5 separate regions of the Homo sapiens genome follow, and all the other regions are linked to region 1. Evidence: promoter capture Hi-C in 16 types of primary human blood cells and fetal thymus (Javierre and others, 2016). All regions are on one chromosome and are shown on one strand. Each heading gives the region's core, a stretch centred on a gene start or on the middle of the fragment in contact. The rest is flanking DNA. Distances are from core to core; before and after follow the strand shown. Region 1 holds the start of ICE1 (interactor of little elongation complex ELL subunit 1). Region 2 overlaps CCT5 (chaperonin containing TCP1 subunit 5). Region 3 has its middle 28 kb from the start of MRPL36. Region 4 holds the start of MRPL36 (mitochondrial ribosomal protein L36). Region 5 holds the start of LINC02226 (long intergenic non-protein coding RNA 2226).

Region 1 (4,729 bases), core at 2,230-4,729:
TCTTACACTGAACACAGTGCACATCTAACCTGGCCTGCTATTTCCTTGAGGGATATTAGGGCACCTTGGAAGCACTGTGTTCCACAAACATTAAATCTGAAAATGGCTGAACACTCCTAGTTCTGATGTCATTCCAACTTCAGTCCCTTCCACCTTGATTTCCTCTTCCTCCTGTATCTACCACAGTTCTCATGGTCATTTGAGTTTTAAACCTCGGGACCTTCCATTTCCTGACATGAGACCTGCCCATTCTTTACACTGTCTCATATTCAGAACCTTTTTCTTCTTTATTCCCCTTCCCAGGAACCTTCAATTACTTCAGACTTTTGTTATCACTATTATGTATTAGTAAAATAATTTACCATACCTAGTTGCACCCCCCTTCAATCCATCCTGCATACCACCGTTACTTCTACTACAAGCACTGTCCTAACGTAACTATGCAAAAACCTTCACCATCCCATAACACTGACAGAAATAAGTACAAGAATTTATGATGGTTACCATTCAAGGTTCTCTATAAACTGCCAGGAACCTATTTTTCTAGACTCACTTTGCACAACTACAGAATTCCTCCAGAGACTCTACTCGTAACTTTCCCCTAAAAAGGTAATCCAATTCCAGGCCACAGAAAATCCAAATGCAATAGTGTCCTGACCTAGAGAAGAACTCTGTAAACTAAGGCCCTACTCCAGTGTTTATAATGTTTCAATGGAACACAGGCATACTCATTTCTTTGTGAATTGTCTACAGCTGCTTTCACATGAAAATGGCAGAGCTGAGCAGTTCTGAGCAAGTCCCCAAAGCCTAAATACTTGTGATCTTGCTCCTTACAGAAAAAGTTTGCAGACCTCTGGATCTAGGATTACTCTTATTGATGTTTTGAGAACCCACAGCAGGAAATGTGGCAAGGGTAGAAGGAAGGAGATTCAATTTCTAGGCCATACATTAGAGTAGTTCACACCACGGTGGAAGCAGTGGAGATGTTGAAAAGTGGGTGAATAATGAAGGCAGAGCGGACACAATCTGATAAACTGGATACAGGTTATGAGAAAAAAAGAGCTGCACCAAGGATGCCATCTAGTTTCTGGCCTAAGCAACCAGAAGAATACAGTTGCTAAATTTAACCATAACAGATCCATGACTGAAAAGCACAGTTCACATCAGTAGTTCTTCTGCACAAAAGCCTCCAATGACTCACCATTTCCATCGCCCAAACCCCAACAATGGTCTACAGGAGCCCACACAATCAGGCCCTCCTCCTACCTTCCTGACTCCCAGCATTCACTCCGCTCCAGCTTCACTGGCCTTCTTGCTCTTCCCAAGCACACCAAGCCAGCTCCTGCTACAGTTCTTCACATCTGATGTTTCCACTGTATGGGAGACTTTTCTTCCAAGATTTCTACAGAGCTTATTATTCTCTCACCTTTGCTCCAATATAAACGTTCCAGGACTCCCTACTTAAATTCCAACAGCCACTGGCCTAGTCCTCACCCATTCATTCCCTCCCCATCTCTGTTCAATTCATCAACAACGTTTTCATTACCCTCTAACATAACTCATTTGTTTCATTTATCCTGCCACCCTCCTAGAACGGAAGCTCCAAGAGATCAAGAATTTTTGTCTTTTTCTCCCCTAATGCCATAATTGCAGTGTCTAAAATACGGCAGGTGATCAATAAATGTTTGTTGAGTGAATTGGCTCGAATAATAAATACAATGTATTAAAGATTCGGGAGAACTCCAATCACGTTCCTGGGGTGGTGGTGGCGGGGGCGGGGGGGCGTTATAAGATACCTACACAATGCAGCTCAGTGAAGGCAATGATCTGTTAGTTCTCCTTCTACTCACAAAAGCAGCACATTTCCTTCCTCCCCTTCCTTCAACACTTAAAATGTTTGCAATCAGTTCACAGATATTGCACTTAAAATGCAAACCAAGTTTCTCGGCATGGCCTACCTAGCCTGCACTCCCGTCTGGTCTCATCAACCATCTTCCGTGTGCACTATGCTCATGCCAACCATACCATGTTCTGCTCATCAAAGACACCCTGCTCCTTCTCACCAAAGGAACCTTTCCACCTGTTAATCCCTCTATCCAGGAAGCTCTTCCCACATCTCTTCTGACAGCCCGATCCTTCCCATTATTCAAATATCTGAAAGTTACTGACTCAAAAATTCCCTACCTGACTACTCTAGCTAAGAGACAAGACCAATATTCCAACATCCTCCTTTATTTTCTAACACCTAAAATCTTCTGAGGCCTTATTCACACATATGCATCTTACTTATGAGAGATCCTATTTTGTTCACCACAATGTCTGTAGTTCCTAGAACACTAGGCAGAGTAGGTAATGAGGTGCTGGTGAGTTCCGTTTTATCACTGAAACCGCGATAGTAGGAAGTTAAAAGAGACCCCCGACATCAGGCAGCTAGGAGAGTCGTGGGAAATGAGGGGCACTATTGCCCAAGTACCACCCCATAAGATCTGGAGCCATACTCTAGCAATTCTCCCTTATGTCACTCTAAAGAAGAGCCCACGCCGCTGTTAGAAACCTCCAGTCTCTGCATGCCTTTCATAAACTACTTTTATCAAACAACTGACAAGCTACTTGACCAATTACTTGGCTTGCTTTTTAAAAAATTAGCCTCGGGATGGCACATCTGCTATAAGCTGAAACGCCTCCCTAGACTCTTCGAGTCTAAGACTCAGACAACCCACATGTCACGTAAGATTCTGCCTCCAAACAACAAATACTCAGGATGGGCCAGAAGACCAAAGCGTTATCCTCAGGGAGATAACTGCCCTCGGCGTTTCACCTGTCCCTCACTGACCTACGGAGTCTGCCCTAGGGAGCTCCGAGGCCGGGTAGGGAAGGTGGGGGGCCCTCCAAACCTCGCTTACTCCACCCCCACCGTTACACCAGCGCATTCCAGTCAATGAACTCTGGGTTTCAAGCTTAAATAAAGCAAAGAAAGCCGTCCCCAAAACTCATGTAGGAAAAAGAGAGCAGAGAGACGAGCGAGCAAGAGCTACGGTTGGGAAGGGAGAGCAGCGCACTGAGGCACAGCCCGCGCGGCCGGACCCCACATCCCTGCGCTCCCGGCCGGCCGAGCCGAGTCCCCCCCCGCGCCCGGGGCCCCGGGAGGTGCTGCACCTGCTGCAGAGAGGCGCAGCCCTGACATCGCGACAGGTCCGCCGCCGTCCCGGGCGCCGCCGAATGGGTCTCGCCCGGCATCATGGTGCCGCCGCCGGGCCCGGTGGGCACGCACGCCTCAGGGGCCCGCGGCGTCGGCCCCGTCCTGTCTCTGCTGATGCCGCCGGGGCCGCCGCCTGCCAGGCCGCTTCCCGCCAGGTCCGGGCGGGTCCATCCGTGCACAGAGGTCCCCGTGGGGCTAGCAAAAGGCTCTCCGAGCCAGAGCTGCCTCAGGCACTAAAAAGAAACGCTACCCGGCGCGGCCCCCGAGCGCGACGCAGTCCAGTCAGGGCCCCGCCCCGCCCTGGCTCGCCCCGCCCCGCCCTGGCTCGCCCCGCCCCTCCCCTGGGCGCGGGGCTGCCTAAGGCGCTGCCTGAGCAACACCGGGAGAGGAGCTGTGCTATGCGGCGGGGGAGACGCCCACAGAGGAGCAGCCAATAGGAGTAGAAGGATCGAAGGTGCATTCCTACCACTGTTAAGGGTCGATCCTTTATTGCCACCTTGCTGTACGACAGGCTTTCCATAGACACCTAAAGGCCTCCGCTATGTGGGCGGTGACCCGCCCGTGACGTAAGCTCCAGACGCCTGAGAAGTGGAAGGACCCGGCGTCCAGGACAGGAAAGTGCGTGATTTACAGCTAGAGGGATAGGCGCTGTCCCGGAGCCCGTCCTGGGCCAGGGAGCAGGAGAGGGAGGGACTACAGTTCCCGACGCGCTGCGGGGCGGGCGGAGATCGTGCGCTTCGGCGCCAGTTGCACGGCCTTAGCAGCCAGTGGCGGCTCCCCTGCTCCTGTAACAGTCCCCTTGTCTTCTGACCTTTCGCTCCTCGGTCATGTGTCCTCGCCGGTCGCCGCGGCAGCCAGTGATGCCCGAGCGGCGGGTTCCCAGGCCCAGGTGTGGGCGCCACCGCCCACCATGCGCCAAGCCCAGAGCCTGGTTGAATCGTTCGCCACCTTGTCTACCCATTTTGGCCATTATCCTGCCACCTCCAAATCCTGTTTTTGACACTTCTCGGGAGAGAGAGAAAACGGAAAGATAAAGGAATAAACTCCTCGTGGTCGTAGTTAGTGGGTAAATTCAGATCTCGTTTGAACCGAGGTTTTTCTTATCTCCAGCCACCGTATCCACCACCACCAGAATCGTCTTTTTAGTCATCACAGCTGGTCGCCGTCAGTACCTTGTTCAGAAGCCTCTCGCAGCTTCCATCGTGTGGTTATACAATCCAAATTCCTTATAAAGTCCAAATTCAAGAGGAGGAATGCACGTTTAGTTAAGTTAATGTCTAGACCTTACCAGCCAATTTCTAGCTCCTCAGTATGGAAATTGCAACTGAAAACACCCCTTCCAAAAAAAGCAGTCTGCATTTTTCTCTGAGTTTTCTTCTCCAAATTTCGCACCCCTGACCTTGCTTACACACTCTGGATACCACCTGCTGTGGAGTGGCGGAAGCAGACATCCAGCGATAGCTAAGTTTCCTGTCGTTGACACCCAAGCAAGACAGGCGTGTACCTAACTGAGGACCTGCCGGTGATAGA
Region 2 (4,729 bases), core at 2,230-4,729, 4.8 Mb before region 1:
AAAGGCTCACATGGGTCTCCATCAGCCCTAAACAACACGCCAGGTTAGGCTGTGAGCAACCTAGTAACAGCACTTAAGGCATCCCATAATTCTGTGGTGGACCCTCTACAATCAAATGGCCCACCCATTTAGATAGGAAGAGGATCAAGCCCATATTCCTCTCAATATGAAAGTGCATCTTGAGAGCTCCTGTTTAAGCTGTTAAAATAGTCCCTACAGCTTATTTTGAGAAAAAAAAATCCACCCAAACCCCTTCAATTAAGGCAGCATTTAATTACTGTTACAATAAACGTTTCTTAAACCCGAAGAGAAGATAAAGGTTGTTTAAACAGATTCTTTTAATACAATGAATACAAAAGCAGTTGAGATGGTACCCCCACGATTACACAGCTTTGAACAAGTGAAACTATGGTTACCAAACAGCTATTTTTATTATAGCATCTACAGTGTCTGGAAAAGGATGTAACAATAAATAACTGTAGATGCATCACGAGACATCCATTTACTTAATCACAGAAGTGGATCTTGCTACATAGTTTTCTCAATGTCTTCATTCTTCAGATTCTCCAGGCTTACGAATGTCATCAATCTTCAAAATCATTCTAACCATTTGTGTTGCAAGAGATATCTGTTGCTTTTTGCCAATCAAGGTTTCTATGACATGCTGTTGCTTCATATCTGAAAAATACAAGGACACTGATTATCCTAAAATAGCATACAATAAACTATCAATAACCAACTCTTTCTGATTTAGGGAATCACAGTAAGACTTAAGAAATACAAACTCCTGGAAGCCAAGCAGGAAGCCACTAATTTCAGTTATATTTCATTTTCAGATGAATGTAATTTCATTACTTCCAAGGACACTCTGGAACTCGCACCTGGTAAAGAGAGCTGTTGGGAGGGCACTGTCTTCAATGACTAGCTACAGGGTGACATTTTTCAGGAACATCTTATCCCACAAAGTATCCATACCCTAACTTAGGAAATCTAAAGTAAGTCCATCTGACCACAGCTGAAATGTAAGATATTTCCAAGAAAGATCTAGAAATGCTAATTTTTTTTTTGGAGACAGGTGTCACCCAGGCTGGAATACAACAGTGCGATCTCAGCTCACTGGAACCTCTGCGTCCCGGGTTCAAGCGATTCTCCTGCCTCAGCCTCCCGAGTAGCTGGGATTACAGGTGCCTGCCCTGACCAGGCCTGGCTAATTTTGTATTTTTTGTAGAGATGGTGTTTCACCATGTTGGTCAGGCTGGTGTCAAACTCCTGACCTCAGGTGATCCACCCGGCTTGGCCTCCTAAAGTGCTGGGATTACAGACATGAGTCACTGCGCCCGGCCCTAGAAATGCTAAATTTGAGCACAACCAGGCATTCAAGTTAGAAACATTAAATGTTTGCCTCACAAAGAGTTGCTACTATTGAAACCCTTGGAATTTGAGCATGGAAAGCAGAATGTACCTATACCTTTAAGCAAAAGCTGTCATTCTGTGGATGGATTACAGACATGGCCTGATTTAGTACAGAAATGCCTGAGACCACTGTTTCAACAAGCTACAGCCACCATATCTTTTTGGGAGCCGAGCTACACAAGTGGCTACAGAGGTTATATATTACATTTAGAAAACACTCCACAGTGTGCAGGATTAACCACACAGTGAACTGTGAACTAAAGCCCACTTCAGAGCTGTTATATATATGCTGCCCACTGACAGACATCTGTGTAAAAACAGCAATAAGGCATTACTTCCCAAAAACCAGAGATTAAAACCTAAGTCATCTTTGGTGATAGTACCATATGCACTTTACTGTTATTACAATGAGTCTCATGTTGCTAGGTCTAGTAGTCTAACCAATTCCTACGGCAATCAAACATTCTAAAATTCAGGACTTGAACACCTGAAGTGGGCTTACATATTTAAAAAGACACCATCATCTCACAGCACATACAGTGGATGATTATTCAGTTTAAATCAGACATCCCCCCCCCTCCACGCAGAGGCGTGACAGCTCCTCACCATTTGTCCCCTTGTGCAAACAGTCGATGCCAAGAGCAGGGTTCATCTCCTTCACCTGTCTGGCTCGGACTTCGGTCATAGTCTGGATGGGATTCATGCCACTGTTTTCAGAGAGGGCCATGGGGATGACCTCCAGTGCGTCGGCAAACGCTCTCATGGCATACTGTTCTAAGGTGGGGCACTGGAAAGGTACAGAAGTATGGTGAGTGCACTTGGCGAAACAAAACAACCCAGCGGCACCGTGAAAACACAACTGTATCACATACTTTGAAAAGTCAGCTCACAAAGAATTGTAAGAACAGGCTGTCTTTATTTTTGTATCTATCAGAATATTATAATGTCACCACAGAATACAGGCAGAGGGTATACATACATGTGAGAGATGTCTCAAAATACAGCAGCTCTTATGGCTTTATTTTTAAGTTATAATATTAATTTTGAATTTCAAATAACATTAAAAGACTATAGATTTATTATTTCAAGGACGAACTGGCTGAAAACAGCTGAGAAATGCTAGGTTATGGTAACCAGAATCTGAATACAGGAACGTGGGAATTAACTTAGATTAAAACACCTGTCACCTACACACAGCTCACGATGCTTGTTTTGCATCCAGCACCTCGCTGTTCCGCAGCTTCACAGTCTCCACCATCAGCGAGGCCTGAATCTTTCACTAAGTCTGCACAGATCCCTTACCTTATCCGCCTCTTGGCTAACTGCCAGGGCACAGGATATCTCAGCAGCCCCTCCTCCATACACCACACGATTATCGCGGATGAGGTTCCGGATGACACACAAAGCATCGTGAAGGGATCGTTTCGCCTCCTCAATGATCTAAGGAAAACAGCTTTGCCTGAATTAATGTGATCAAGATCTAGTCAATTTAGAGCCAAGTATCTGGCACCTTTTTAAAGACAGAGAGGCTGTGCTCTAATATTTAGATGGCCTCCACTATCGGATAATATTTATCTTTCTAGCTTTCCTTCCTGCAATGTAGTTAACAAAATTCAAGAGGCAGAGGCGGCCAGTGACTCATTCTAGGATACACGGTCAAGCAAGAGTCAAAAACTGACAAAACTCGCAAAGATTTATCACAATGTGCTAAAAACTCATTCTCAAAGAACAGAGATCGTCAATGGTTATTCACTTGGGTTCCCTTTTTCTACCTAAGGGACAGATGTAAGTCATCCTTGGTAATAATACCATATTGTAATTAAAATGAGTCTTATGTTGCTAGGGCTAGCAGTTTAACCAACCCCTAATGTAACTGTATCAAACATTCTAAAATCCAGGACTTGAATATTTAAACTGTGTTTAAGTATTTAAAAAGATATAAAAATCTCATAGTGTATATTGTATACTCTAAGGGACAGCAGAAAGGCAAATGTGCCTTGTGAAATTAACAATTTAACATGGTCTTCAGTAATTTTACACCATGATACGTCATTGTTTGAGAACCACGATTATTTTTCTTATGGTGACTGTGTCTCTGTTAAATACACACAGGCAAAAAAGCCAGACCATGAAGCAAAATAAGCAACAGTATAGGACAAATAGTTGAATTCTCACCATCTTATTTCCTCCTCTAATAAAAATGGTTACAGCTCTGGAGTTCTTACACTGCTCGATGACCAGCATTTTATCCTTAGTTGTCCCAAATGAGATCTCCTGTACAAGACCAGCAAAGCCCAGCTTCTCGGCTGTGAGCTCTGAGAACCTGGGGACGATCCGCCCTCCTGTTGCGATGGCAATCAGCTAATTGGGGTGGTCAGGGAGAAGGATGAAGACAGTACTGGTGAAGTTAACTTTCAAAACTGGGCCACAAATGAGCAAAACTTGATCTAAGACCAACTTGTTCACTAGAACTGCTGCCCCACTTTGACCGAGACATCTCCAGTTCAACCCAAAGCACCTTGCTAGGTAACAAGGCTCTTGAGCTGGACGTCTTGATTGGGGCTTTGGTGCTGCCCAGATCTATCACCCGGCGCCCGTCCCCTAAGCTCATACCCTCATCTCCCATCTGTGCAGCCCTCCCTCACTCTGGGAACCCAGCCTGCATGTTCCTTGCACTGCGCTGCAGTGAGAACCACCGAGGCACCGTTGCCTGGGACTGCCATTAGTATTTGGATGAGACCAGGTCTTCCAGCCTTAGTAAGTCAACGACAGGGCCAAGTGAGACAACACAGGGAGAGAATTTCAAAATGCCAGGGAACACCAGAAACACACAGCACTGTTATCCAAACAGTAACAAAGATTCCAGCGCTTTCCTCTCTCCCAGCTCACCCTCCCCTCATCTGCCAGCCTTGGTGTGATGCAGTTATTTAAGGCAGGGCTATCAAAACACCCCTCAACACATAAGATGAACCCCTACTTCTCAAAGTCTCTTCACGTGGAACATCCTACCTCAATTTCAGGTCCTCCTACCCAGCGAACCGCAGGCAAGTTGTTCTGAAGAAGTAAGTGATTTGCTTCATCATCAAAGCCCCACTGACAAATTGCTAGGTTAGCACCAGTCTCTTTAATCTGGGAAAAGAACCACCACAATCGTATTAAGAGAAAGTGGGTATTTATTCTTCATTACAATGTTTGAAAAAAGGAGAGGCACAGTTGGGTGTAAGGCAGGTGCACTCAAACACAAAAGCAAAGGAAAGAGAAGGAAGGAAATAGACAAGTGTCCACTTTTCTGTCAGTTCCAAATTCTAAATAGTGA
Region 3 (4,729 bases), core at 1,181-3,680, 3.7 Mb after region 1:
CACTGTCCGCAAGTTCCCATGAATCTGATCTCATCAACAAAGTATATAAAAAATATATATATATCTACTGGGTCTGGCTTTGTCATTCAGACTGCAGTGCAGTGGTGCAATCTTGGCTCACTGCAACCTCTGCCTCCTGGGCTCAAGCCATCCTCCCATCTCAGCCCTCCCAAATAGCTGGGACCACAGATGTGCACCACCACACCTGGCTAATTTCTATATTTTTTTTAGAGACAGGATTTCACCATGTTGCCCAGGCTGGTCTCAGACTCCTGAACTCAAGGGATCCTCCCACCTCAGCCTCCCAAAGTGCTGAGATTATAGGTATGGAATTATAGTGTTTGTTTGCTTTTGTTTCCTTGAGATGAGGTCTCACTCTGTCTCCCAGGCTGGAGTGCAGTGGCACAATCCCGGCTCACTGCAACCTCCTCCTCCCTGGTTTAAGCTATTCTCCTGCCTCAGCCTCCCGAGTAGCTGGGATTACAGGTGCACGCCACCATGCCCAGCTATTTTTATATTTTTAGTAGAGACAATGTTTCACCATGTTGGCCAGGCTAGTCTCAAACTCCTGACCTTAGGTGATCCGCCCGCCTCGGCCTCCCAAAGTGCTGGGATTACAGGCATGAGCCACTATTCCTGGCCAGAATTATAGTTTTAAATATCAGTTCTGTTCCATTGTGTTAATTTAGTCTTCATTTACTCCAGTTGCATCTGTGTTGTATATTCTTTGACAGGCTTTTATATTTATTATTTTCTCATATTTTTAATTTCCTTTATTTTCATTTTAATTTCTTATTTGTATCTTCTTATTTCTGTTCTCTAAGTCTCTTACTGTGCTTTTGGTTATATATGTTTTCCCTTGGGCACCCCATAATTTGTCCTTACTTTCTGTTATGATTTCTGTCTTTTTCTTCAGTTTCTTACTTGAATGTTGCTAGCTGTAATTTTATACCTTCCAGTATTTATCTATTTGTATTCTGAGTTTTTGAGCCTCTGATTTGTGATGACCTTTTAAATCTGCAATTGCTTGTTTATCTTGGAGGGTTGTGGTACACTTTTCATTAGCTTTGAGGATTTTTTGAGGTAGGTTTTTCTCCTGCTGAAATTTCTATTCTTATTCTCAATTTTGGCTCTCTTATAGTCAATTTTTATGGCTGGACGCTGATTTCTTATTTTGTTCAGGATTATTTGTGTCAGATTTTCCTGAACCAGTGGTAGCTGATGCCTTGTGCAGGGAGTCTGGGTGTTTTACTCCATTTTTTAGTTTAAGAGCACCCTCTTATCGGCTACAGTAAAGTCCAATTTGTTTGATAAATGACAACTTTGGGGGCCTGTTTCTTTCTGATTCTTCGATAACACCCTGGGTCAGTAGCGCCCTTATCAAAGCGGCATCTCCCCCTTCCAAGAAGCTTTCCTCTCCCCAGACAGTTGTCCACAGGATTGCATCCATGGGTCCTGTGCATATTCCAAGCATCGTCCTTTCAGCTCCCAGCACAGCTTTCTGATCTGCCTTAGACCTCCTCTTTGTCTCCCTCTCTCGGGGAGCAGACGTCTCCTCTGGTGAATGTCATGGGTTTCCTCCTACACGTGGGCACTGCAAACCCTCCTGTCTTCCAAGCACACTCCAACTCACTCTGCTCTGCTGTGGGCCCCCTCGCCAGCTCTGATGGGTTCAAATGTTTGTTTCATCTTTTATGTGTCAGTTGAAGTTTGTGTTATTTGTTCTCTGTGTTCTGTTTGGTTGGGGGTGGTTTTGTTTGCTTTCTTTGTGCTTTTATAGAGGATATGTGGACAGATTTGGATCTAAGGGACAGTCATTATCCAACAGGTCCCAGAAGCTACTCCTTCCCCTTCTTCATTTCCTTTTTCAGTTTCCCTCACTCATATTGAACACTGCACCCGGGAGTGTCTGCAGCTGAACTCCCAGCAACCCACCTGTGTGGCACATGGGACACAGACTGAGAATAATGAAGGCCCAGGTGTGAGAACTGATTTGATGAGGGCTGCGGGTGTCCAGGCCTCCCGGGTGTGGCAATGGCTCTGCAGGCTCAGAAAAGCACTGTGGAGTGACTGCACTTGGCCTCCCTGGACATGTGCTGAGGATAAACCACACCAGTGAACCTTTTGGCAAGATGCATGAGCCACGTACACAAAATGGGTCCACGTCCCCCAGAACCCGGCAGCCACGTGGGCTCAGCCCATGGCAACACATTCATTTCCAACTTTGCACATAATTCTGGCTGAGGCAGGATTCACCATGCCCAGCTTATAGCCACATCTGGCCAATCTGGTTCAACATCCGTGTAATGGAGTTGTGACTTGTTCTTCAGTTGCCGTGGACCCCCAGGCTGAAGGTCATATAACCTGAGCATGCCCAGACAACCCACGTGTGCAACATGGGGGAACCTAAGTGCTGGGGCTGGGGAACGGGGACCGAATGAGGATCCAGGATCCAATCAGTGGAGCCCCAGCATCAGCCCCATGGCAGCACAGCTCATTAGTGCATACTTGGAAGACCTGGTCCAACCCCAGCTCGGGGAGGCAGATCTGGGCACTTCCTCCTGTCTCCTGGCCAGTCGACTCGCAAAAAATCTTTCTTGCTGCAAAACCCAGTGCTTCGGTGTTCGGCTTTCCACTGTGTGCCGGCAGACGGACCTGGTTTGATTCGGTGACAAGCCTGAGAGCATGCATCCTGCAGCTCCTCCTACTACAACCTCGGCGCTGTGCGGCAGCTCTCAGGACTCACCTGCACTCCTGCCTCACCCCCGCGAGCCCTCCCTGAAAGCTGAGCCCTCACATGGCTGAGATCTGAGCCGGGTGCTTGGCCTGGATGTGCCCCATGAGGTCCTTCTGATCCTGGGCCAGTCTCTTGTGATCCATAACCTGTCCTGCTGCTGACAGAGCTCCCAGCCCTGCCAAGGGGACCTCCTATGGGGCTGCCCCTGCTTTCCTAAGCAGCTGGATGAATCTTGATCAATCACATCCTGTAATGACTGCAGTGTCACCTTACATTTACATGGTGCACATTGTTATTCTGCACTGTAAACAACAGGCATAGAATTCAGTTGTCGACTTGGATGAGCTAGTCCACACCAACCGGAATGTCCACAAAAATGTGAGTGTACTCGTCATTGCTCCATGATCTCATATCATCCCCACTAAACACTGTGAGATGAAAATTATGATCCCTGTTTTATAGGTCAAGAGCACCCTCTTATTTGCTATAGTAAAGTTCAATGTATTTAATAAATGGCAACTTTGGGGCTCTGTTTCCTTCCGACTCTTTGATAACACCCTGGGTCAGTAGTGCATCATCATCAGCTACTTTCTCCTTTTCTTTCACCATCAACCATCTAAAGTACATCTCCCCCTTCCGAGGAGCTCCCCTCTCCCCCAGACAGTTACACATGAGAACAAACTATGGAACAAGCCACAAAGAAACTGAAGCTTGAGGAGGTGAAGTCCAAGGTCAAAATCATAGTGAGTGGCAGAGAAAATGCCAGCGTCATGGAGCCGATGCTTTGGGACTGGTGATTTGTTTCACAAATGAATTCTTTCTTTTCCACAAAGGATAGGTTTGATTACACACTGAGGTCTCCTCCATCTGATATTTAAATGTACATGTAGAAGATTTTTCCCACAGCTTTTCAGAAACCTGCACTATGGACAGTGAAGGGAACTTGTGTTCACAAAACAGGCATCCCCAGAAGCCTGGAGAAAGGAGAGGCTGCTGGATGTGCCTCAGGACACAGCCAGGGTGTCATGCCCTGACTTTCACCTTTCTCTAGGAAGCCGTCCAGGTTTTCTGCCACCAGTGCTTGCTGTCACAGCGGCTGCTGCTGCCACACAGGCACCACCCGGCGAGGTGGGGGTTATGTGAATTCAGGTTTCCAGCCCTTCTCAGTGCTCCTTAGAAAAACCAGACGACGTGCCTCAAAACAAGGAAAAATAAAACAAGCAAGCAGTGTCTCAGCCCCTGGGCCCACACATAACCACCACTTTTCTGTAAAATAAAACTTGAATACATTAAAAGTGTCTGGAAAACACTCCATGGGGAGCCTCCGAAGCATCCAAAGCGCATGGTGCTTGCTGGCCGGGGCTGTGCTCGCCCCAGAAGGGCAGAGCTTGGGTGAGCCCTTTGCACGCACATTTTATACCTCCAGGGGTCATGGTGGCCTCGGGAGACCGGGCAGAGTCCTCTTCTTTTTAAAACTGAGGTGAAATTCACACAACACAAAATTAACCCTTTTAGAGTGAGCAACTCGATGGCATTTATCACACTCGCAGTGGGCAGCTGCCACCTCTGGACACTTCAGGGCAGCTTCATCACCCCAAAAGGAAGCCCCGCACCCATGAGCAGTCATTCCCGTTCCTTTCTCCCAGCCCCAGGCAGCCCCCTGTCACTGCGGAATTACCGGTTCTGGATATTACATGTAAAAGGAATTGTGCGCTCTGTGGCCTTCTGTGTCTGGCGAACCCCACTGAGCACGGTGTCTCGAGGTTCACCCGTGCGGTTCCCCGTGTCAGTGCGGCGTCCCTTGCTGTGGCGGAAACATATTCCCTTCTATGGAGGCCCCATTATGCACTCAGCCGTCAAGGGGACGTCTGGGCTGCTTCTGCCTCTCGGCTGCTGCGCATGCGGTTTCTATGCGCATGTGTGTACTCGTACTTCTTGGAGCCCCTGTTTTCGATTCTTTTGTGGATAGGCCTGGAGGTGGGATTGCTGGGC
Region 4 (4,729 bases), core at 737-3,236, 3.6 Mb after region 1:
TATGGGCAGCCAGTCCACAGCAAGTGCTGCCCGCTGGGGAGACTTCCCGTTCCAGAGCCCGCAGGCCCTGGAAGGACGAGACCCACCGCTACAGGCTGCCACCACCGTCCCGACTCGCGGGCGTCCTCCCCGGCGCGTGAGCGACAGCACAACCTTACCACGACCTGCGCTGCCGGCGCAGAACCAGGGCCGCGGATGCCCGGCGAGCCCACTGCCACCAGTCGCCCGAGGTGCGGCTGGAGGAAGGTGCATCCTGTACCCAGCGGCCGTTACCTGGCCAGTGTGCGTGACCTTCTCCCCGGTCGGCGAGACCCGCACCCCGAAACACCTGGCGCCCAGGGGCAGGCTCCGCGCCGCCTCGCCACACCGGTTCAGCAGCCGGCAGAAGGTCATCGCCGCCGCCATTTTGCGCCGCTGGCCTTTGACCCGGCGCAACGTCCCGCTTAGCGCTAACGCATGCGCACGGCTTCTGGCGGCGCCAAACACCCGGTATTTATTTCGCCCTGGGGGCGGGGAGCGCGGGTCGGGGCAGAGGGTGCGCCGGAGCTGCTCTCTGATTCAGGTGGTCACCCGTTTTCATCCCAGGTATCTCGCTAAAAATGCCCCTGATTACACCGAGTACTGTGCGCTTGTTTGACTTTTCATCAATGGCCTAAAAGTTAAGCGGCCCCGTTGCGCCGGCAGGTGCAGCCTCATGCAGTTGCAGCCGCAGGCTAGAGCTAGGGCCCTGATGAGGCAGGCAATGGTGTGCGAAACCTTCAGCGATTAGGAGTACCCAGTGGTTCTTATTTAGCGGACAGGCAGGGGAGGATGTAAACTGAAAATACATTGTTTATATTCTTATGGTAACCGATAATCATGAGACATTTAAATATCAAAATTATTGGGTGAAGGAGTCAACTGCTTAGCAGACGAGACTGGAAGTGCATTCTCCTCGTTCAAGGCAAGCGTTCCTGTGTGTGGTTACGGGGAGCCGCAGAGGAAACGTATATTGGGGATTTCTGCAACAAAGCCTAGTACACCGACTGATTTTACAGCATGCAAATACAGCCTCTAAAAAGGCCCGTTTTGCTTAGAGTTGACTTGGGTATAAATCCCAGCTTAAGCTCCAGCATCCAGCTTTTCTTTTGCTGTGGTCAGAGCCTGAGGACCACGTGACTCCAAGAACAAAACACTAGAGATGGATGAGTGGCGGGGAAGATGATAAAGAGGAGGAAAGGCATGAGAAACAAGAATGCACATGAAAACCTCCGGTCCCAAAGATGTCCCAGCAAACGTGGTGGTCAGAGGCAGATTTGTCCTGGAGCTGATAAACTCCAGCGGCCCGCCCGGTGTTCGCCGGGTCAGGTGGAAAAAGTGGGCGCTGCGATGAAGCGTTGGGGCCTGCAGGGAGCGCGGAGTGGACGCAGCCACGTCTGCAACTCACCCGGACACACACAAAAAGGAAGGCGAATGGAGTTACGGGTAGATACCTGAAAAGGCAGGGATAAGCGAGCTAAGGGTAGAATCTAGGTGGCAAGTATATGGGTGTTCACCGTACAGTTCTTTCCCTTTTTCTCTATGTCCGAAGTTTTTCATAATGTTGGGGAAAACAGCCGTAACCAGTTGAAACTACTGCCCGTCTCCACTCGTTTCCCGGAGCCTGTTTACATTTCTCCTGTCCACTTAAAAACATGTCCTCTTTCTCAGTTTGTTTTGACATTGGTATTTGCCAGTTTTTTCTAAGGCCTAAGTGGTTGTAATTTCTTTTTCGTTGCGGATATCCATTTTCGTTCCTGGTTTTTGCATTTTTTTTCCCGAGAGCGCTCCAAACAGCACGACGATCCCGGTGGCCCGCAGAGTGCGCGCAGTCGGGGAGTGATACGTCGCACTCCAGCGCCTGCGCACTCGCTGCTGCGTCTCTGCGCCCCGCACTGGACGTGGGCACGCCACGTGACCCCCCCCCCCGCCGCCATCTTCCTTCCTGGCAGCAGCGTCCGCGTGCCAGTGCGCAGACGCAGGGGTCGGCGCCGGGTGAGAGCGTGCGGCCGGGTAAGGGAGCCGTCTTCTCAGGTCAGGGGTCCCGGGTGTCTTGAGAGTGGGGGCTGCGAGAGGGTGGGGCCGGCCACCTTGGGACCCTCGGGCGTGTCTCCCCGAGTGGGCTGCGGTCAGAGGAGCGTGGGCCGGGGCCTGGCGGTCTCAGAGGGCCAGGGTTGGGGGGTGCGGGTCCGACCGTGGGCGCCCGACCTGGCGACAGGAGGGGGTGTCCAGCGACCCCGGGGCGGGAGAACTGGCGGCTCCCGAACGCGACCTCACAGCCCGCGCGCAGGGCCGGCTCCGGTGCCGCAGTGTCCTCCGGGCCCTGCAGGCCCAGCTCTTCCCAGCCGGGGCCGCTGAACCCTAAGGGCCGGGGCGCGTGGGGAAGCAGGGGCGGGCGACCGGGGTGCCAGAGTTCCGTGCTCTTCCGGAGCGGGGGCCTGTCCCGAAACTGGCCCGAGGGAGGGCCCCTGGGTCTGGGAAGAGTTGGAGGGAGGAGCTCATCAGTTGAACCGTCCTTGACCTGGTGTCTGTTTGGAAAGGGATGCGGCCTAAGTTTAAGCTCCCTCCCAGCCAAGTGAGCGGCTCCTCAACATCGCAGGGCTTTGCACACTCACCTACACTTGCAGCAGGCGGGAAAGGGAAGGAAGCCACCGTCCACTGCCCCTTATTCTCCTGGCACACTTGGCTGATTAAGGCAGTGTTCAAGCTCAGGTCGAGGCTGCAGCTGGTATGGGAACACCCTCAGTCCCCGAGGTCCCTGCCTTCCCAAGCCTCAGTGAAACAGAGAAAAGGAAGCCTTAAAGAGCAGGTGGAAGTGCAGGAGAAGCTATAACTCCTTTTTTTCTCTCTCCCATAGATTCACCACAACATGGCAAATCTTTTTATAAGGAAAATGGTGAACCCTCTGCTCTATCTCAGTCGTCACACGGTGAAGCCTCGAGCCCTCTCCACATTTCTATTTGGATCCATTCGAGGTGCAGCCCCCGTGGCTGTGGAACCCGGGGCAGCAGTGCGCTCACTTCTCTCACCCGGCCTCCTGCCCCATCTGCTGCCTGCGCTGGGGTTCAAAAACAAGACTGTCCTTAAGAAGCGCTGCAAGGACTGTTACCTGGTGAAGAGGCGGGGTCGGTGGTACGTCTACTGTAAAACCCATCCGAGGCACAAGCAGAGACAGATGTAGACCCTTTCCCTCCAGAGTCACGCACATACTCGTCATCGCATCACTTGGGAGAATGGTTGTATCTTATGGAAGGAATTATCACATCAAGGAGTCAGGGGAAAGTGACTGGAAGCAAACGCCCTAAAAGTTACCCATCACGTTTCAGTGTAAATGAGTAACTATAGAAGACATTGCGTTATCTTATTTCCAAAACGTTCCAACTAAAAAACATTTTCCTATTAAAATAGACCTTCCGAATAGCTTAGTTCATTCATTCTCTCTGAACTCAGGCTGCAGGTAGGGATTGGATGGTGCTGGGTGAGGCTGGGCAGGACTTCTCTATGTCTCCGTGAGGCTGCTTAGAGCCTCTTGGAAGAAGTGGTGTTTTGGTCACCCGTCGCTGTACAAGCCAAGGCTTGGTGGCTTAAATCAGCCATTTTACATTGTTCACGATTTTGTGAGGCATTTGGGATGGGCTCAGCTGAGCAGTTTGTCTGATCTGTGTGGCATTAACTGCAGGACCCACTTCCAAGATGGCACCGGCTCTCCTGTCTGGGGTCTCAGTGCTCCTCAGGCTGTACGTAGCACCTCCTCAGGCAGGGCCCACAGCGTGGCTTGCACTGCCCCACAGTGAGCTTCCCGAGAGTGTCCCGAGAGACCCAAGCAGATGCTACGAGGCTTCCTATGACCCAGCCTCAGAAATTCCAGCGTGTCATTTCTACCGCACTCTTTCAGTCCCTAGGGTGAGCCCAGATTCAGGGGGAGGCAAGGAGCTCCCCTTGCTAGAGGATGACCACACCTACAACTGGTAAGGACTTGGAGGGATGGAGTGGGCTGGTCCTTCCCTGGTCATCGGGATTCATAGTTGAGTGAGCCCCATGCCTTGGGGGAGCACTGTCATCAACATGAATTTGGGGGTGGGGAGCACAGTCCAACCCAGAGCAGATGCTGAGATGCGACAGCCTTCTCACGGCTCCTTTCCTCCTGGCCAGGGACACCTCCCCTTCTCCCAGAAAGGAGTTTTGTGAGACAGGAGACCACGCAAGAAGCCTAGCGCGGGGGGAGCGCCCTCCTGCCCAGATCAGCAGCAGGGGCGCAGCAGGGTCACCCAGAAAGGCCTGGTGGGGCGGCAGAGGGGGCAGCATGGCCACATGAGGGCCAAAGCTCCTCCCCAGCACCCACATCACTTCTCCAGGGGGAGCAGACGCCGGTGTGTGTTGCTGTGAACTCTGTGCTGTGCCCATTCACCCTCACAAAGGGCCTCTGCAAGCAGCTTGACATGGGCATTGCAGCCCGCAGGCGTCTGGCCAGTTGAAGAAGGTGGAGAGCGTTATTACCTGAAAGAAAAGGGAACCAGCTCTGCGAAGAGCCTGCTTCTGTTGTGCAGTGAAAGGGAAGCCCTCTCTCGAGCCGTTCTTAAGTGAGGAGTTGATGCACTAGAGTGTCTGTCACGGGGGCCCCTGAAAGTGTCAGAAGCCAGACCCCACTAGGAGACCTGTTATGCACTGGGGCTGAGAATAGTTCAGCAAGAGAGAGGACTTTCCTCAAGCG
Region 5 (4,729 bases), core at 929-3,428, 3.0 Mb before region 1:
CTATTTATCATCTCTAGAAAAGAAAAAAAAACATTAAAATTTTAGGATGTAGGATTCACAATAAATCTCTTACCAAATCCTCCTTAAATCCCTAAACTCTCTACCTGGCTCTGACTCCAGGATCACCCTTTCAGTTCTTTCCATGTTTTTCTTCGGAAAATGTAGTTTCCTAACCTTTCTACCCACCCTTCTCGTCTACTCTTAGGTCTGCAGCCACAGTGATAGTTCTAAGTTGCAAACCTGATCATGTCCTTCCAGTACTTAGTCTTTCAAAAATCTTCCTACTTCCCGCAGAGTGAAGCCTGAACTCTTTAATAGGCATCTAAGGACTTGGACCCGGATCCTGTTAACCTGTTAATTCATCTTTGCCTCTAACTCCCTCCCTTCATCTTTCAAGGCACAGCGCAGGACTTAACTCATTGTGAAAGTACTAAGCCTTGATGTATCTTTAGGAAAAACACACGTATACACACACACGCATGCAAAGAGAGGAAGCATAGCTTAGTGGTTAACCTACATAGACTGCAACTTGCTTAAATAATCCAGTATTTATCTATGTTTTAATAAAATTGTTTTAATAAAAATATATGAAATTCATCTATCTTTTCTCTGGAATGCTTTTGCCTGTTCAAAGATTATACAATGCTCCCGTATGTTACAGAGGAAGCCGTCCCTTCATTTATAAAAGACAGTTAACACATAGCACAAAAACTCTAGAGTAGGATGGATCCGCAACTACTGTACTGGAAATATGCTAAATTAGGGTTCTGATTAGAGTTAATGGAATTAACTTGGGTGAGAGAAAATACTCACCATTAATCTAGGGGTAACAGAGGAGTTAAACTCCAATTCAGAAACAGAGCAGTTCAAAATCAGAATCTAGAGTCAGCCTACATGGGCTTGATCTGGGAATGTGCCCTTTATTAGACGTGTAACCTTGGGCTGCTGCTTGACTGAATAGGTCTTCGATTCCTCATGGAATGAATATAATAAGATCTGATGAATGCAATTAGACAGTGCCTGAAACAGTAGTCTTAAGTAGGTATTTTTGTTGTCCCACTTTTTGAGAAACAAAACCAAAGTCAATTCAATTAAAACTGCAGGTTTCTTGATTTCATCCTAATACTTTGCAAATTAATCACAGAACCCAAGTGAAATTGCCTAGACTCTCAAAGAGTTCGAAAAACATTTCTAATACACTCAAAATTTTCCTAGTTGACGTTCACAGATTATCAAGAGTAAAGCACCTTCATACAGTTTTGATCCTCACACTGTCTAAATCTGAGGAGCTGTCAGGAAAGACATGTAAGGAGAGATCTAAGCTAAAACTCAAACCACACATGAGGCTTTTCAACTGTGACCAACTTGTAGTTAAAATTCAGTTTATGCTTTTCTGTCCACCTAAGAGCAAATTAAACCTTTAAGAAAGCAAAGGATAAAATCATTGTTAGCTCAAGCATTAAAAAAGAAAATAACTGAATATATCTTCTTCAACTCTCCACCCCTAGGGATGAGAACTGCACCTGGCAAACAAGAGGACATTCAACACGTAGTAGCTGTTAAAATGAGTAACTCCCCAAAAGCACTATTAGAAGGCGATATAGTTATTATGACCAAGTTCTGCGGAAACATGGTGTTGAAAACCTTACTGAAGCTAACAATGTGCGTCACCTTCCAGGAGCCACACACACATCCTGAGGGCTTCCCAGATCAACCCCTCATCCCCGCGACAGAGCCACAATCCAGCACCACCTTCCCAGGACTCTCAGCTGAGGCCCCAGCCCCCGCAGGCCCAGGGACGACGCGGCGGGCAGGGCACATGCCTGCGTCGGGCCAGGTGGAAGCTCGGAACGACCACAGGCCCCCGGGGCGCGCCCCTCCCCGTCACGCGCCCCGTTTCCCACGTCCACGCATGCGGTTTCCCCAGGCCTGGAAAGCGTCTAGAGCCAAAGAGCCCAGGGGCTTGCCCGCGCAGAGGCCGACGTGGGGCCCAGGGACGCGCTCCCGGGGTCCTCCCCGCCGAGCCCGCAGCCAGCACCCGGAGCGATCCCCCGAGCCCGAGGGGCGTGGGAACCACGCGCGCAAGCCGGCTGCCCTTCCAGTCCCGGGACGCTTCCCCATCAGGCCAGTGCTAGGCGGGCGGTCGGGACCCGGGGATCGCAGCCTCCGGAGCGCTCACCTGGGTGGCGCAGGCCAAGGACGCCCATGGACAGCGCGACCTCCTCCCATTCCACACACGCGCCCACGACCAAAGTGCGCATGCTCGACACCTGGGACCAATAGGAATCTCGGTCCGAGGGTAGCTGGGGCCAATCACAGCGCGTCTGGCGTGTGGGCGGTGTCTCCTCGTGTTACGCGTGCGCGGAGGGGCTGCGCTACCCGGTCTTGGGTTTTTCATCGGGGAGTGGGAGTGGACTGAAGGCTTGGCCGCTCCGCCTCACTGAGCCGGCTCAGCCAGCGCAGCTGTTCCTGGAACGCCAGTCCCTTAGGATGGGAGGTACTTTCATCTCGAAGAGGGCCGTGGCGTCTGGAGCTTCCCTCCCTTCTGTCCTGCTGAGTCATCCCCGCGTCGCCTGCGAGGCCGCGAGGCGTTTAGGTCTGGGCAGGCCGCCTTTTCCCCATCACGAGATCCTGTTATTTTACTGTTTCATTCTTTTTCTCACTTTCCTATTTGTTAAGCCAAACTTTTTCCTTCCATAGACGTGACCCCTTAGAAGGCTACCCATGCCTCGACATATCTGACATTTGACGTTTTACTCAAATAATTTGCCAAAGTCTATTGCCTTTTTTAACTTCTATTTTCTAAAGCTAGTTTGATACTAATCAACACAGTTTTTTCAACAAGCATGTAAGTGTGCATATTCTAGACATGCGCGGCCTGAGTTTAACCCATCTGCTACTAATTTGTGTTGTCTCGGAATATTATCTAATCCCGTGCTTCAGTTCTCATATATAAACTGAAACTTTATAGATTCACTGGTGGCCTGTAAGCCTGGCCTGTAAGCCTTAAGTTGAAACATGGAGCATATCAGAACTGTGCCTGGCACGTGGTGAAATGTTCAAAAGTTAGTATTGTTATTAGGTGCTGGGCACTTTTCTAGGCTTTGGGATATAGAGATCAATGTCCCTGATGTCCTGGTGTTTATAATTTATTGTGGACACTTTGCTATTTTTTTGGATACAGATCTTTATTTTCATAAACATGGATAATTTTCATTGAGTGCAGTGTGATCTCAATTGATACTTTTGTAGTATTTCATCATTATGCTTATATTCTTTTTAAAATTTAGGTACTGTTGAGGGAAAGTGAGAATGACATGATTTTGATAACATGGTAGAACCTTTTTCATTCATCTGGTGTTGCCACACTGGGGCTCTGGGTGCTTTATGAATCATGTTCACAAGTCATACTTGTGTCTGTCCATGGTTCTTTTCACTACAGCCACCATAGTTCAGGGTGAGATTTTTCACACCGACTGTAAAGATTTATCTGTGGAAAATGGTAATGAGCTTGCCTGGTTGATGTCCTGTTGTTTTCCCAAGTACATACTTGGAAGAGAGTGAACAGAAGACTAAAACGTGGGTCAACAGATGTTTTGCAGTGAGCTAAAAAATAATTGACTTCACTAGAACAACTGCTTGATATTCTACAGCAGTTTTGCAGGTTTCTGAAGTGGAAGAAGCAGATAGTGATGGAATGCTGCTAAAAGAAATATAAGAGAATAATAACACCCTTGGTGCTTGTTAATTTCATTTTGAATTTTTTTTTTTTAAGTTGTCAGTTACATGTTTGGTGACTGCTTTGAAAGTTCTGATTCTGTTGCATGTGGATCCACAAGGTAGCTTAGGAAGCCTGATGGCAGAATACAAATTGTCTTAAAAGAGTTCATAGGTATTCACAATCTTTGTATTGAAGAAAGTATGATGAAACTCCCCAGGTCCAGTTAGGGCAGCACTGGGAATGCAAGGTGAGAAATTGGAAGAATTTACCACACACAAAAAAATGATGTGTCTGTATTAGTCCATTCTTGTATTGCTATAAAGAAATACCTGAGACTGGGTAGTTTATAAAGAAAAGAGGTTTAATTGGCTCACAGTTCTGCAGGCTGTACAAGCATGCTGCTGGCATCTGTTAGACTTCCAGGGGAAGCCTCAGGGAGCTTTTATTCATGGTGGAAGGCCAGCAGGAGGAAGAGAGAAAAGTGGTGGGGAGGTGCCACAATTTACAGCAACCAGATCTTGCAGGAACTTAGTATCAGGAAGTCAGCACCAAGCCTGAGGGATCTGCCTCCACGACCCAAACACCTCCCACCAGCCCCCGCCTCCAACACTGGGGATTAAAATTCAGCATGAGATTTGGTGGGGACATATATTCAAAACGTATCAGTGTCATTTTATGAAATATTCTGGGCTAAAACAGTGGATCTACAAGCAACTTTTAAAAAGAAGATAATTAACATCTCTCAGTTGACAGTTTCTAACTTGAATCCTAAATAGGCCAAGTGTGCAGCAAGCTTGTGGTTTTTGATCAGACACTACCTGTGAGCTCTCTTTTTCTTAGTTCTAATAAGGAAATAGATACTAAGTCTTAGAAATTTTTAAATACTTTGGGCACAATAACATTTTTTTAAACAAAGACCTAGAGCAACATGTTGCTGGACTTTCTGAGCAAAGAAAGTCAAGTGATATAGAAAACTGACTCCTGGGCCAGGGGTGGTGTCTCACGCCT

The links. Contacts are between HindIII fragments. The CHiCAGO score rates a contact against its expected background, and 5 or more counts as called.
Region 2: a contact is called between a fragment that was not itself captured here and the fragment with the promoter of ICE1 in region 1, in 1 of 17 cell types (activated CD4 T cells). The highest score is 8.3, in activated CD4 T cells.
Region 3: a fragment that was not itself captured here is called in contact with the fragment with the promoter of ICE1 in region 1 in 1 of 17 cell types (endothelial precursors); the score reaches 7.2 in endothelial precursors.
Region 4: a contact is called between the fragment with the promoter of MRPL36 here and the fragment with the promoter of ICE1 in region 1, in 4 of 17 cell types (endothelial precursors, naive B cells, neutrophils and 1 more). The highest score is 10.4, in endothelial precursors.
Region 5: a fragment that was not itself captured here is called in contact with the fragment with the promoter of ICE1 in region 1 in 1 of 17 cell types (total B cells); the score reaches 5.6 in total B cells.

Annotation. Positions count from the first base shown.
Region 1 is chr5:5,421,427-5,426,155 of GRCh38, reverse strand. ICE1 (interactor of little elongation complex ELL subunit 1) reads right to left here and starts at 3,479. Exons shown (of 19, transcript NM_015325.3): 1 at 3,157-3,479. The coding sequence starts at 3,240. It overlaps LOC101929200 (a long non-coding RNA gene), which reads left to right and starts at 4,027. Exons shown (of 6, transcript XR_001742583.3): 1 at 4,027-4,729. RefSeq lists silencers at 3,047-3,186, 3,247-3,576 and enhancers at 3,607-3,856, 3,722-4,232, 4,233-4,729. The HindIII fragment of the contact is 2,607 bases long and covers 2,960-4,729 here.
Region 2 is chr5:10,260,605-10,265,333 of GRCh38, reverse strand. CCT5 (chaperonin containing TCP1 subunit 5) reads right to left here. Exons shown (of 11, transcript NM_012073.5): 7 at 4,423-4,542; 8 at 3,589-3,774; 9 at 2,716-2,853; 10 at 2,020-2,200; 11 at 1-678. The coding sequence ends at 551. Among named protein-coding and RNA genes, the nearest start is that of CCT5, 13 kb to the right of the region's middle. The HindIII fragment of the contact is 8,542 bases long and covers 1-4,729 here.
Region 3 is chr5:1,769,696-1,774,424 of GRCh38, reverse strand. No RefSeq gene overlaps it. Among named protein-coding and RNA genes, the nearest start is that of MRPL36, 28 kb to the left of the region's middle. RefSeq lists enhancers at 2,202-2,701, 4,391-4,729. The HindIII fragment of the contact is 2,038 bases long and covers 1,412-3,449 here.
Region 4 is chr5:1,797,094-1,801,822 of GRCh38, reverse strand. It overlaps MRPL36 (mitochondrial ribosomal protein L36), which reads left to right and starts at 1,986. Exons shown (of 2, transcript NM_032479.4): 1 at 1,986-2,031; 2 at 2,876-3,438. The coding sequence starts at 2,888. The coding sequence ends at 3,199. It overlaps NDUFS6 (NADH:ubiquinone oxidoreductase subunit S6), which reads right to left and starts at 416. Exons shown (of 4, transcript NM_004553.6): 1 at 274-416. The coding sequence starts at 405. RefSeq lists enhancers at 37-176, 1-607, 787-916, 977-1,026 and a silencer at 2,107-2,516. The HindIII fragment of the contact is 7,489 bases long and covers 1-4,729 here.
Region 5 is chr5:8,455,217-8,459,945 of GRCh38, reverse strand. LINC02226 (long intergenic non-protein coding RNA 2226) reads left to right here and starts at 2,382. Exons shown (of 6, transcript NR_039984.1): 1 at 2,382-2,497. It overlaps MIR4458HG (MIR4458 host gene), which reads right to left and starts at 2,259. Exons shown (of 2, transcript NR_039989.1): 1 at 2,180-2,259; 2 at 1-13. It also overlaps the pseudogene LOC100419318. RefSeq lists silencers at 1,930-1,989, 2,000-2,049 and an enhancer at 2,570-2,669. The HindIII fragment of the contact is 4,676 bases long and covers 1-4,516 here.